Regions from separate parts of the Homo sapiens genome. Here region 2 is linked to region 1. The links are contacts of gene promoters, found by promoter capture Hi-C in human tissues and cell types (Jung and others, 2019). All regions are on one chromosome and are shown on one strand. Each heading gives the region's core, a stretch centred on a gene start or on the middle of the fragment in contact. The rest is flanking DNA. Distances are from core to core; before and after follow the strand shown.

Region 1 (6,466 bases), core at 302-2,801:
TAAGGAATCAAGAAACAGAAGGCCAGGGAGTGTTGGTTTGGTGATCGGAGGCTCCAGCCTGGCCGCAGCAGGGTTTGCGCAGTGTCCAAGAAGCTGCGGGTGGGCAGGCGGCCTCGGAACCTGCCTTGCTGGCTTCCTCGAATTGGTAGCGATCAGTTCTAGCCGCCGTGCCCGCCCGAATTTGTTCCCAGGCCTCTGCTCCTCAACAAACCTATGAATTCTCTCCCGGCTGGCAGCGGCCCTTCGCCCAGCGCTTCGCCCAGCGCCTGCGGCCTCCCGGGAATCGCCCGGGCTCCTGCCTTGGGCTGGGGGGTCTCCCAGAAGGCCCCTTTCTGCAGCGGGGCCGGCCTCCCTCCCCGATCCTGGGATGGCCTGCGGGATGATCCCGCACTCATCTCGTCCACTCCCTTGTGCCCGCGGTAGCGCAGCATTTCCTAACTTTTCCACGAGGGAACCTCTCCGCCCTGGCCGCGCCGGCAAGTTGTGCTGAAAAAATAAAGTGAAGTCAGATTCCTGAGGGTCCGCAGTATCCCATTTTAAAATCAAGGCCCTCGATCCCAGACTCCACTTTCCTGGCGCAAAGAAAGAAAGGCACCAGAAACCCGGGTCGTGGGTGGGCTGCAGAAAGAAGGTCCAGGACCCTCCTCCGATTGTACGCAAAAGCTGTCTGGTGAGCAACATTTCAATTTCTGTTTAGCGGTTCTCATCAGATCTTTAAAAAGATTCGTAAATCCAAAGGAGATTTAAAAACAGAGATTATCTGCTTGTCTCTCTGTTCTGTCTACCATAAACCGATTTCTCAACTTCCTACCAGACCCAGGAGCAGAGCCGAAGCCGCCCGGGGCTTTGTTAGGCCGGGGGGAAACGTTTTTTGGTCTCTTGCTTCTGATCCTTTCAATCCGGCATTTCCTCTGAACCTCCGATTGGACGCGGGGCGCGGGAGCCTGGCGACAACACCAGGCATCTTACATTCTGAACCCCCCGCCGCAGCCCAGCCCTCGGCCCAAGGGCGCGTGTCTCCTCCTCCTGGCCCTGAGTTTCTTGGGGACGAAAGCGACCCAGGAGGGGAGAAGGGGGCCTGTGTTTCCTCCTCACCTTTCTTTTCGGCTCTAGGGTCCTTGGCTGGGTCGGGGTCGCTGTAGGCACGTGGATAGAAGGCGGGGGCGGCGGGAAAGGCAGACGCACACTTGGCCGGTGAAGGCGCGCGGCCCAGCTCTGCGCGCAGCTCTGGGAGGCCCGGCGCAGCCGCCTCGGGCCCAGCGTAGGCCTCTGGCTTGAAGGCGGCCAGCATGCAGGAGGAGGGCGCCAGGGTCGCCTCCAGGCGGGCAGAGAGCTCTCCGGCGGCAGCCAGGCTGCGCTGCTGCTGTTCCAGGTTTAGGATGTCTTTGACTGAGAAGGGCGTGGGCGTGAGAGCAGGGCTGGGGAACATGGTGGCAGCGCCAGTCTCACAGCGCCAGGTGGGCGGCAGAAAGCGGCGCTGCCCACGGCCCCTGGCAGCTTCCCTGCATGGTGCCGCCGCCCGCCCGCGCACCCGTCGGCCAGCTCTGGATGTGTCCGGGCAGCAGGTAGCGCTGAGCACAAGGGGCAGGAGAGGCGGGACCAGGCCAGAGGAGGGGGACTCAGCCTGCCATTGGGCCAGGGGCCTCGATGACAGGAGCGATGAGCAGTTTCGTGTCACCTAATATAGTCATACGGCAAAAAAAAAAAAAAAAAAAAAAAAAAAAAAAAAAAAAAAAAGCCCTGCCCAGCTTTTTTAAAGGGGCCACGACGCATTTGGAAGGGTCTCCTTTTGCTCCTGCAGCCTGCGTTTGCTCCCTAATGTGAGCCTGAAAAGCCTACCAGAGGCATGCAGAGTCAGGCCTCTGGGCAGGGCTGGATGGGTGTGGGTTTGAAGAAATATTCCTCAGCACCCAAACCAGCATGGGAGAGAGAAGGATGGGGTGGGAAGCGGTGGGGAGGAGAGTGATTTGAGGAAGGCTTTATTACTGAAGGTGGTGGGATGAGGGAGAGTCTGAATAGGAAGAGAAGCCTGGAGGACAGGGCTGGCTTTGGGGATAGCAGCAGGGCGAGATTCTGGACAATTCGGGGGTTTGGTTTGGCTTGGCCTACAGGGTCAGTCATGCCGCAGGCTCTGGGTGCTTCTGGGCGAGTCAACGAAAGTAAGGGCAAGGTGAGTGATGGCCAGGTGGGGTAGGAGTTGCTGCCTCCTACAGTAGTGTTATGCACAGCACAACTCCAGGGGGCATCAGTCACTGCCAGTACCCTCCCAGGGAAATGCCTCTCCCCTTAATAATGAAATAAATCAGGAATCCCAGCTGGTAAGCTCAGCTTCCCAGGAGACACCTGTCTTGTGGAGTGCCCCAGCTACCAGCCACCTTGTTTCCCCTGTTTGGAGGCCATCGATCCCACCTCCCTCCTTCCCGTGCCCTCCCTGCCTGGCAGCAAGGCCCTCAGGCTTCTGCCAACCTCGAGGTTTCAGGGTCCTAGCCCAGGTTTAGCTCTCAGGGAGGCGGGGCTCCTCTGAGCCCAGCTAGGCCAGGATTTCTCTGAGGCCTCTGGGCCGGACTTCCAGTGGGGCACCCCTGCGGCTCGGTCAGGCGCGTGGGGGAAGGGCAGGGCAAGTGGGGTGATCATGATCATTTTTAGCCCAGGGTCAGTAGAGTAGGGCACAGAAGTCAGACAAATCTGCCAGAGTTTCAGGAGCGCCAGCTACATGGCCAGATCCTGCCCGGGTGGCCTCATTTCTCTGGGTCCCCGCACTCCTTGGGAGGTCTGATGAAAGCTTGGGGTCTTCTCCATTCCCCAGAACACTGCAGAGAGGAGTTTTATTTTGCTTACAATTCAGGAGTCCGGGCAGGCAGAGCGGGCCCAGGTTAAGGACGCCTTCTAGAGCTGGGGATGACAGGATTTGTCAGTGGAAAAGCGTTGGCTTCTCACGGCCCTAGCTGGTACAGGGAACCGCGGGCGGGAAGCTGGGCGGGACGCGTGGACTTGCTGAGAATGGGGATGTGGAGGGCTTGGCTCTTTGCGGAGTGCGGGTTGGCAAGAGGCGCTTGGAGTAGAATAAAGGCGGCGCAGGGCCAAAAACTACCTAAAGACACAGCTCCCGCAGGCGCGCCCAAGGTGCGGAGGAAACGCTCCATGTATGGGGACAAAATAGTGTCTGTCCAGAACGTACATCTTGGGTGCTCAAACCCGACAGTGTGCCGTCTGAGACGCCGACGCAAGTGAAGTCAAGCATTGGCCTGATGTTGGGACTTTTCCTGTCCCTCATCAAAGCCACACTCCCAGGACCTGGGGCCTCCATGCTGGGGAGAGAGGTGAGCCCCGCAGGGCAGCCCAGGAGGCGCGCAACGCCCTGACCCCGGCTTCTAGGCGCCAGCCGTCAGTAACAGGCCTGGGCTGCCACGCCGAAATCACGCCTCGAGTTTCTGAGCCAGGGACTACTGGGGGTCTGGAATTGTTAGTCTAGTCTGTGGAGGATGCCTTTTCTTAAATGTGGGGCGTTCAAGGCCCAGGAAACCTCGTCCCCCCACCTCTTCACCTCCCAACCCAAATTCTCCTTGGACGGAGCTGCATGTCAGCGGCCTTGCGGCCCTTCCTCGCCTGGACTTTTGGCCACGTTACCGTTATGGCTGTAAATTAACCTAGCTTGGGGGCCCGCCTTGCCTTTGAAGATTGTTTTCGAGCGCGGGCGGGGGGGGGTGTCGTTGGAGAGGATGCCTATCGCCGAGGCGGTGACGTCTGGCAAACGAGCCACATCCGATTCAATTAAATGTCTCGCTGAAAAGAGCTCGGAACGAGGGTCCTGGGAGCGCTGTTAAGTGAATCTGCTGGCCAGGCGGCTCGCGATGACAGTTTGAAAGATTAGTGTGAGCGGACGCCTGAAATATTACCGTTTAATGGGGGACATCGAGGCTACATCCGGGATCCCTGTTTTTAGTAAGGTTTTTTTTTTTTTTTTTTTGAGAGCTCTGGAGAAAGAAAAAAATTAGCATTGCCCTTGCAAATCAAGGTGGCAAGGATTTATTTCCTATTTTCGGGTAAGGGGGCTTCCTAGAACTGTCAGTCCTGTGGGTCAGGTGTTACAAAAAGGGAAGGAAAAAAAACTCTCCCTATTTGAACAAGATCAGTGACTGTTACACTCTCTATGCTCTTTGTGAATCGGGTAATGATTTCTCTTGGCTTCCAAAAAGGTCTTGGTGTTGCAGGAGAGAGGAGATGGGGCAAAAACGGACAAATACGTGCAAAATAGAAATTGGGGCGACCCATGCTGGTCTCCTTAGAGGAAAGTCCGAGAGCCATTTGCAGCTTTTCTTTCCAGTCCTCACTGTTTCCGAGTGAGTTAAAAAAAAATCCCTCTAAATAGATCTAAATAGAAATTGCAATAGTTGGGGGTTGGGTGGGAGGAAACTTGATTCTCTGGCCCCCAACAGGGACACATCTTTTTTTCCCAAGGGCCGCTGACCCAACCTGGCCGCCTCTCTGCGCCGCACTTTGACCAAACTAGCAGGACAAACAAACAGCCTTCAGCCTAGAGAAAGGCAGAGAGAGACAAAAGGAGAGAGAAGAGATCGAAAATCTATCTGTGTATTTCCTTGACTTTTAAAGAGTTGGTGCTTTAAGATAATCCAAATTCCAGGGTGGCTCGAGCGCATTCTCCGTGAATAAATTATTATTAATTGAAAAGCGATCGGCGCAGCCGGAGCCGGCCCCCCTTTCGTGCAATCAGCAGGGCTGGTCGCAAAAGGTATATATGATTAATTGAAAGATAAGCTGGAACTATCACCGGGAATGTCATTAATGCGCTGGGGAGACGTCCATTGGAGACAGGCGGCGTTATCCGCGGCTTTATCTTCAACAACGCCTCGCTCTCGGCCCGCGCGGGGGAAACAGATGGGAGTTTCTGTCTGGGACGCTCGCCCCATGTTTATATTTTGGGAAGAATCGCAACTCGTGGGAGTCCCCGGCTGGCCCCCTGATAAATGAACATTAGCACTTTTTCGGACTACTGTATCAACAAAGGGGCTGCGGCGCTGCAATAATTGGCGAGAAAGCAAACAGAGGGCCGAGAGCGCGACTCTGCTCTTCGTCCGGCTGATGGATGAGCAGCTCCGGCTGCGCGCCGGACTCCCGGCCTCGGCCTCCGCCTCCGCCTCCGCCTCCGCCTCCGCGCTGGGCCCCTCCGCCGCCCGGCTTCCTTCCTGGCCGGGAGTTGGGGGCGGGGGGCGACTCTGAGGGCCGCCGACCTCGCCCTTGGCTCCGGAAGAGTCCAGGCGGCCTCCGCGGCACCGGATTTTTCCTGCCTCGGGACTCGCCTCATTCAGGTGGCTCAGCTGGCACCAAATCCTTCTCATTTCCACGCTTGTTCAGTGCCCACGGGGTGTGCCAGGCGCTCTCACGGATCTCGTCACGGATCCTCTTATTCCGACTGCAGGCCTGAGGAGAATGAGGTTCAGAGACGTGGAGTAAGTTGCTCAGGGTCACACAGATGGGAAAGGACAGTGTCAGGGTGTTAGGATTCGAACACACAGCTGACTGCACAGCTGAGACTGTTTTCTTTTATTACACGTCGCTGCGCCCAAGACCGTACCAACTGGAGGAAGAGCAAGACCCCCACCATCACCCCCCACCCCGCAGCCAGGGGAGAGGACCAGGCTGTTGGATTTGAGATGCCAGGTCTCCCCAACCTTCATAGACAAGGGAGATTTCCTGCATAAAGTTCATTTGAGAAAGAGAGGGGGAGAGAGGAATTTAACATGCGTTCATTTCACTTCCGCCTTCCCCTCCCCTCGCTCTCCCACTTTTCCTTTCCCTTCTCCCTTCCCTCTCCTATTTTGATAACAGCTTTATCGAGATATAATTCGCATACCATACAATCCACCCATTTAAAGTATACAGTTCAGTGATTTTTAGTATGTCCACAGAGTTGTGAAACCAACACCACAATTTTAGAACATTTTTATCACCCCAAAAACAAACTTGTGGTCTTTAGCCATCAACTCCAATCCCCTCTCCTACCTTCCCAGCCCTAGGCAACTGCTAATCTATTTTCTGCCCCTATAGATTTGCCTGTTCTGGACATTTCATACAAATGGAATCATACAATATGTGGCTGTTTGTGTCTCGCAGCGTTCACTTAACATAATGTTTTCAAAGTTCGTCCATGCTGTAGCACGTATCAGCATCTTGTTCCTTTTAATGGCTGAACAATATTCCATTGTATGTCTATGCCACACTTCGTCCATTCATCACTTGGTAAACATTTGGGTTATTTCCACATTTTGTCTATTATGAATACCCCTCCAGCCCACTTCTACCTTACAGTCTGAAGCTTTAGAGTCCTTGAAAGGGCCCTTCCCCCTCCTCCATAATTAACCCTATCCTTCATGGGCATGGCATCTGTGCAGTCTCACAGGGCCTGAGCTTGGTTTAATGTTCCGCTGTTGCTGTCTTAAAACTCTTC
Region 2 (6,466 bases), core at 2,042-4,541, 170 kb before region 1:
TTTTTTTTTTTTTTAAAGACAGGATGGTGCAGTGGCACAGTCATGGTTCACTGCAGCCTTGACCTGGGGCTCAAGTGATCCTCCCACCTCAGCCTCACGAGTAGCTGAGACTACAGGTGTGTGCCACCATGCCCAGCTAATTTTTTTTGTAGAGACAGGGTTTCCCCACATTGCCCAGGCTGGTCTTAAACTCCAGGGCTCAAGCCACCCACCCACCTTGGCGTCCCAAAATGTGCGATTACAGGCGTGACCAACCGCACCTGGCCCCTTTGGGTTTCTCTTTGCCCCTACCTTTCCTTTTTATTTGCTTTATTTTATTTTTTATTTTTTTTGAGATGGGGTTTTGCTGTGTTGCCCAAGCTGGCCTCAAACTCCCGGTGTCAAACAATCCCATCTCAGCCTCCTGAGTAGCTCAGGCTGCAGGCGTGTGCCACCTCTCATTATCTTTTATTTAAAAGCAAAACAAAATAAATTCTTGCGCACTATCTGCTTATTTTACATGTAAATAGCAAAATAAGCTGATTCCCTCTTGGGAAATCTTGTAAGATCAACTAGCTTTTGATACCTGTTCAAAGACTAATTATCCATTTCTGTGAATTTCTTTTTATGAAACATTTTCCTTTGTATTCAAAGATGCTACTTCTTCAAAGGCCACAGTGTAGAATGTGACTGCCTATGTGCCCTGTTTTCTATTTCTTATGCACCTACAAATTGTTTGATAACAAAGTCCAATTCACCTTTTTCCTAAAGCTTTTCCAAACTTTCCCAGGTAGTAGTATTCTCGGTAGTTGTCTATTATTTTGTAAACACCTCTTTTTAAAATTCAGCTTTATTGAATTATAATTTATGTAAAAGAAAATTCAACCAATTTTGAGTTTTGACAAACACATGCTGTCGTCTAACCACTGTTATATCTCTAACATTTTTATCACCACAGAAAGTTCCTCATGCCCCTTTTGTTCAGTTCTCCTGCACTCGCCCTTGGCTCCAGTCACTGATTTGCTTTGTATCACTATTGTTTTGTCTTCTCTGAAATTTCATATAAATCTTTTGGTAGAATGTGTTGTCTTTTGAGTCTGACTTCTTTTAGTTAACATTGATTTTGAGATACTCATATTGTGTCGTATATTCATTGAATCTTTTTTTTTTTTTTTTTTTTTTTTTGAGACAGGGTCTCATTCTGTTGCCCAGGCTGAGTGCAGTGGCGTGATAATGGCTCATTGTATCCTTGACCTCCTGGGCTAGAGTGATCCTCCTTCCTCAGCCTCACGAGTGTCTGGGACTACAGGTGCCATCATCATGCCTGATTAATTTTTGATTTTTTGCAGAGATGGGGTTTTGTCATGTTTCCCAGGCTCGTCTGGAACTTTTGGTTGCAAGCAGTCCTCCTGCCTTAGCCTCCCAAAGTACTGGGATTACAGGTGTGAGCCACCTTTCTCAGCCTGAGCCACCGTGCTCGGCCTGAGCCTTTGTCATTGTATGGACATACCACAATTTATCTGTTTATCAGTGGGTAGACATTTGCATTGCTTCCAGATTTTAGGCTATTATAAATAAAATGGCTTTAAATATTCATGTACAAGTCTTTTAGATATCTCTTTTAACATTCATTACATTTTATTTGGAAGTTGAGTTGCAGAGCTGTCAAGACTGAACACCCAACATTCATAAATAGGCATTTTGCTAGTTCTGTGGTTTTGAGCATCTTTCAGCTTAGATTCATAATCTGTAAAATGGGACTGGGTGGAGATTCAAGCAAGCTAGAGAGCACAGGCCAATTTAAAGAGGATACCTCTTTTTAGTTCAAGTGATCATCTTTCTGGGAATGTATACCCAATGTCAGATCTAATTTTTTCCCCCAAAAGAGTGGTATTTGAGATCAGACATCAAATTTTATATGAAATTTCATGTGAAATTTAAATACTGGTAGTTACAATTTAAAAAACACTAATGCAACTGATTTGCAACTGAACACAACTGATTTGTGGGCGTTGATTTCTCACTGCAGTACAGTTTGAGACCTTGGCTTTAAATCTTCAGTTAATTGGCCGGGTGCCGTGGCTCACACCTGTAATCCCAGCACTTTGGGAGGCTGAGGCGGGTGGATCAAGAAGAGGTCAGGAGATCGAGACCATCTTGGCTAACGCAGTGAAACCCCATCTCTACTAAAAATACAAAAAATAAGCCGGGTGTGGTGGCGGGCACCTGTAGTCCCAGCTACTCGGGAGGCTGAGGCAGGAGAATGGTGTGAACCCAGAAGGTGGAGCTTGCAGTGAGCCAAGATCGCTCCACTGCACTCCAGCCTGGGCGACAGAGCGAGACTCCACCTCAAAAAAAAAAAATCTTCAGTTAATTTTGTCTTCTGTTTTAAAATGTATATCCTCCCAGTAGAGTGCACTTGTTAGGTCCTTTTTACCTTAGTTTTATTAGCATAATAACTTGCTGGTTGTCAAAATTCCCAAGTTAAAAACTAACGAGTTACTGTAAATTTTATTCTTTTGTCTGATTGGAAGGATATTAAGAATACTGACTGCCTGATGGAGGAGTGGAACTAGGTTCAGGTTACTCTATGTACTTCTCCTTCTCTGATAGCTGCTGATTATATTCAGTGCTATGTTTTCTCAGCAGTTGGAATAATCTGCCTCACTTGTTTGATTTATCTCAACACTTTTGAGACAAGTATGGTATAAACTCTGTGTGTCTCTTTATTAGAAACTATGCAAGGTGTTACAGATATACATACAAATTTTATATGACTCTGTTTCATATGGCTCAGATTGTCCAGAGCCATTTGGTGAAGCCAGTATAATGAACTATGAAAAAGTGATAAATTATATGTAATTGTTTGAACAATAAAGAGCAATAATCTTTCTAAAGAGGCCTTTTCCCCTTTATCTGCCATTTCTTTATTGTGTATAGAGATGACTAGTTTGCAGCTTTATGAATGACTTTGTGAGTCCAGAGATTCTTTTGCTGATTAAACCAGCATAATTGACATACACCCTCATAAACCTGGGGGCAAGGGTGTTAAGTGTCGTGTGTTGCCTGAGTATCCCATATTCACCCTGGTTCTAGCTTGGTGGAATGTGGAATTTAGACAATTTAGGATTTTGAGTGGGCCAGGCGCGGTGGCTCACGCCTGTAATCCCAGCACTTTGGGAGGCCGAGGCAGGCGAATTGCCTGAGCTCAGGAGTTCGAGACCAGCCTGGGCAACATGGTGAAACCCCATCAGTACTGAAAAAAAAAAAAAAATTAGCTGAGCGTGGTGGCGTGCACCTGTAGTCCCAGCTACTCAGGAGGCTGAGGCAGGAGAATTGCTTGAACCTGGGAGGTGGAGGTTGCAGTGAGCTGAGATCACGCCACTGCACTCCAGCCTGGGCGACAGAGGGAGACTCCGTCTCAAAAAACAAAAAAAAAGAAAAGGATTCTGAGTTGAGTTTGGTTTTATACCTTAATAGCAGCAACATCCCAGGAGTATCACATACCAAGGAATAGATCTGAGAATAAAAATAGCCACCATTTATTGAGTGTCTGTTTTGTGCTAGGGCTAGATACTTTATATGTTATTTTATTGTGAATCACAATATCCCCACAAAATAATGGGGAATTCTTGCATTTATACATAAAGTAAGGCAGATGAGAGTCTGGAATGAAATTCTTTTTTTTAAATATATTTCTTTTTTTTTTGAGACAGAGTCTCACTCAGTTACCCAGGCTGGAGTGCAGTGCCGCAATCTCTACCTCCCGGGTTCAAGCAATTCCCCCATCTCAGCCTCCTGAATACCTGGGATTACATGTGCGCCACCACACCCAGCTAATTTTTGTATTGTTAGTAGAGATGGGGTTTCACCATGTTGGCCAGGCTGGTCTCGAACTCCTGGCCTCAAGTGATCCACCCAGCTTGGCCTCCCAAAGTGCAGGGATTACAGGCGTGAGCCACCATGCCTGGCCATGAAATTCAAAATATTCACTCACAATGCATAACCTTTTACCTAGAGTTTGTTCCTCATAAAGCAAGCTTTTTAGGAATGTTAGAGCCAAAGTGGCACCGAGCTTTTCTCAGTGTTAAAAGAGATGACTGCAAAACCATGTTCAAATAACCTCTGTACTGGCTATTATGTAGTTTATGCTGGTGGTATAGCCTGCTTCACAGTAGGAAGGAATTTGAATATATCTCTAGTATATTTCATGCTGCTTTTGAAAAGGTGCCAAATCTGAGAAAGGAGGAAGGAAACAATTTTTTTTTTTTTTGAGACGGAATCTCTCTTGTAGTCTAGGCTGGAATGCAGTGGCGTGATCTCGGCTTACTGTAATCCCGAGTTCAAGCGATTCTCATGCCTCAGCCTCCTGAGCAGCTGGGACTACAGGTGTGTGCCACCACGCCTAACTAATTTTTGTCTTTTCAGTAGAGATGGTTTCGCCATGTTGGCCAGGCTGGTCTTGAACTCCTGATCTCAAGTGGTCTGTCTACCTTGGCCTCCCAAAGTGCTGGGATTATAGGCAGTGAACCACTGTACCTTGCCCCTACAGTAAATTTTGAAGAAGAGTTCAAATCCTTGCTAACAACAGCATCAAAGTTGTTACAGTGTGTGAAGAATGTGTGGTGTCACTGGAATCCTGCTGTGTGCTCCAGTGCATTCTCACTTGCACCACTGCCTGTTTTTATGCCGCTGCCATTAATTGTACTGTTCTCTTTTTAACATTTTATAGATTTCTGCAGAACAGCTTAGAAAACAAAGTGATTCTTTAAAACTAAAATCTTTAACATCCTGCATAAAATATTTTGTTTTACTATGGTGAGTTTATCTTCCTGCTTTGTAGTTTAAAATATTAAAATAAAATAATGACGAGGGAGAGAACAATATAACATGCATCGGTCCAGTGCCTGAATTCAGTTGATTTAAATTAAATTTAATTCTACTTCTTCCTCTGTCCTCTCTTCCCTAGATAATAATTACATCAGGTCTTTAAAATGGACTAAAATTTAAATATCACTCTTCTTGGAAATTAAAAAAAATTCAGGAGTACAATTTTTCATATTTTTACTATATGATACTACAGTGGTTCAAGACTCAATTTAACAAACTAAGATGCTTTGGAGCACATAAACGATGCTCAATAAATATATATTGAATAATTGACTTTTTTGTAATGTCCTCATTGTGAAGAGCACCACACCTTTGATTCCTTATCCAGAAGGACATGTGGTCTTAGGGGATTTTCCCATTCATTTTCAGCCATCTCTTGTGTGGATGACTGCTCGGAAGGGCATTGCATTTGGCACTGTAGTGAAATAGATGTGAGATATGATGGTCATTCTCAAAGATGTCACAGTCTGGTAGTGGAAGCAAGGGAATAGGAGAGAAGATGAAAAATATGAGCTAAGACATGAAGGTCAGTCTCACTACTGGAAGTTCTTAGTGGAGTAAAGTGGGATTGTAACTATCTTGAGGATTAGGGGAAATGGTAAAATCAGTCTAATATTAGACTTAAGAGTAGTGGAAGACAGAGTTGGAAAGATAGTGTCATTGTGTATGAGTATTTTTGTTTGTTTGTTTGAGATGGAGTTTTGCTTTTGTTGCCCAAGCTGGAGTGCAGCGCCATGATCTCGCATCACTGCAACCTCCGCCTCCTGGGTTCAAACGATTCTCCTTCGTCAGCCTTCTGAATAGCTGGGATTACAGGTGTGAGCCACCACGCCCAGCTAATTTTTCTTTTTAGTAGAGATGGGGTTTCATCATGTTGGCCAGGCTGGTCTCACACTCCTGACCTCAGGTGATCCACCCATCTTGGCCTCCCAAAGTGCAGGGATTACAGGCATGAGCCACCGTGCCCGGCCTTGTTTTTGTTTTTTTAAGAGACTAGGTCTCACTTTGTGGGCCAGGCTTCTCTCAAACTCCTAGGCTCAAGTGATCCTCCTGCCTCAGCCTCCCAAAGTGCTGGGATTACAGGTATGAGCCACTTGTGTCTGGCCTAAGGTCTGAGTAGTTTGGACATTATCCAAGAAATGTATGGGAGTTGCTGATGACTTTGGAGCACAGTGTTAATATGACGTGTGGTAGGTTAGAAAGAATAATTTTATCTTATATTAATAATTATTTTAGGCTGGGCATGGTGGCTCATGCCTGTAATTCCAGCACTTTGGGAGGCCAAGGCAGGCGATTGCTTGAGCCCAGGAGTTCGAGACCAGCCTGGGTAACATGTTGAAACCCTCTCTAAAAAAAAAATGCAATAATTAGCCAGGCATGGTGGCATGTGCCTGTATTCCCAGCTACTTGGGAGGCAGAAGTGGGAGGGCTGCTTGAGCCTGGAAGGTGGAAGTTGCAGTGAGCTGAGATCACTCCACATCACTCCAGTGTAGGTGACAGAGCAAGACCCTGTCTCAAAAAATTATTTTAATAATTTTCATTAATTTTTAATAATTATTAAATTTAAAATTTTTCCTTTTTTTTTAAGAGACAGAGT

What was found. Contacts are between HindIII fragments. The study calls those that stand out against the background at their distance.
Region 2: a contact is called between a fragment that was not itself captured here and the fragment with the promoter of NKX2-5 in region 1, in 1 of the 25 tissues and cell types used here (bladder).

Annotation. Positions count from the first base shown.
Region 1 is chr5:173,233,655-173,240,120 of GRCh38, forward strand. It overlaps NKX2-5 (NK2 homeobox 5), which reads right to left and starts at 1,552. Exons shown (of 2, transcript NM_004387.4): 1 at 1,096-1,552. The coding sequence starts at 1,429. RefSeq lists enhancers at 1-231, 5,048-5,621. The HindIII fragment of the contact is 11,596 bases long and covers 1-4,558 here.
Region 2 is chr5:173,065,670-173,072,135 of GRCh38, forward strand. The region is part of intron 1 of CREBRF (CREB3 regulatory factor); the gene reads left to right. Among named protein-coding and RNA genes, the nearest start is that of CREBRF, 13 kb to the left of the region's middle. The HindIII fragment of the contact is 7,444 bases long and covers 1-6,466 here.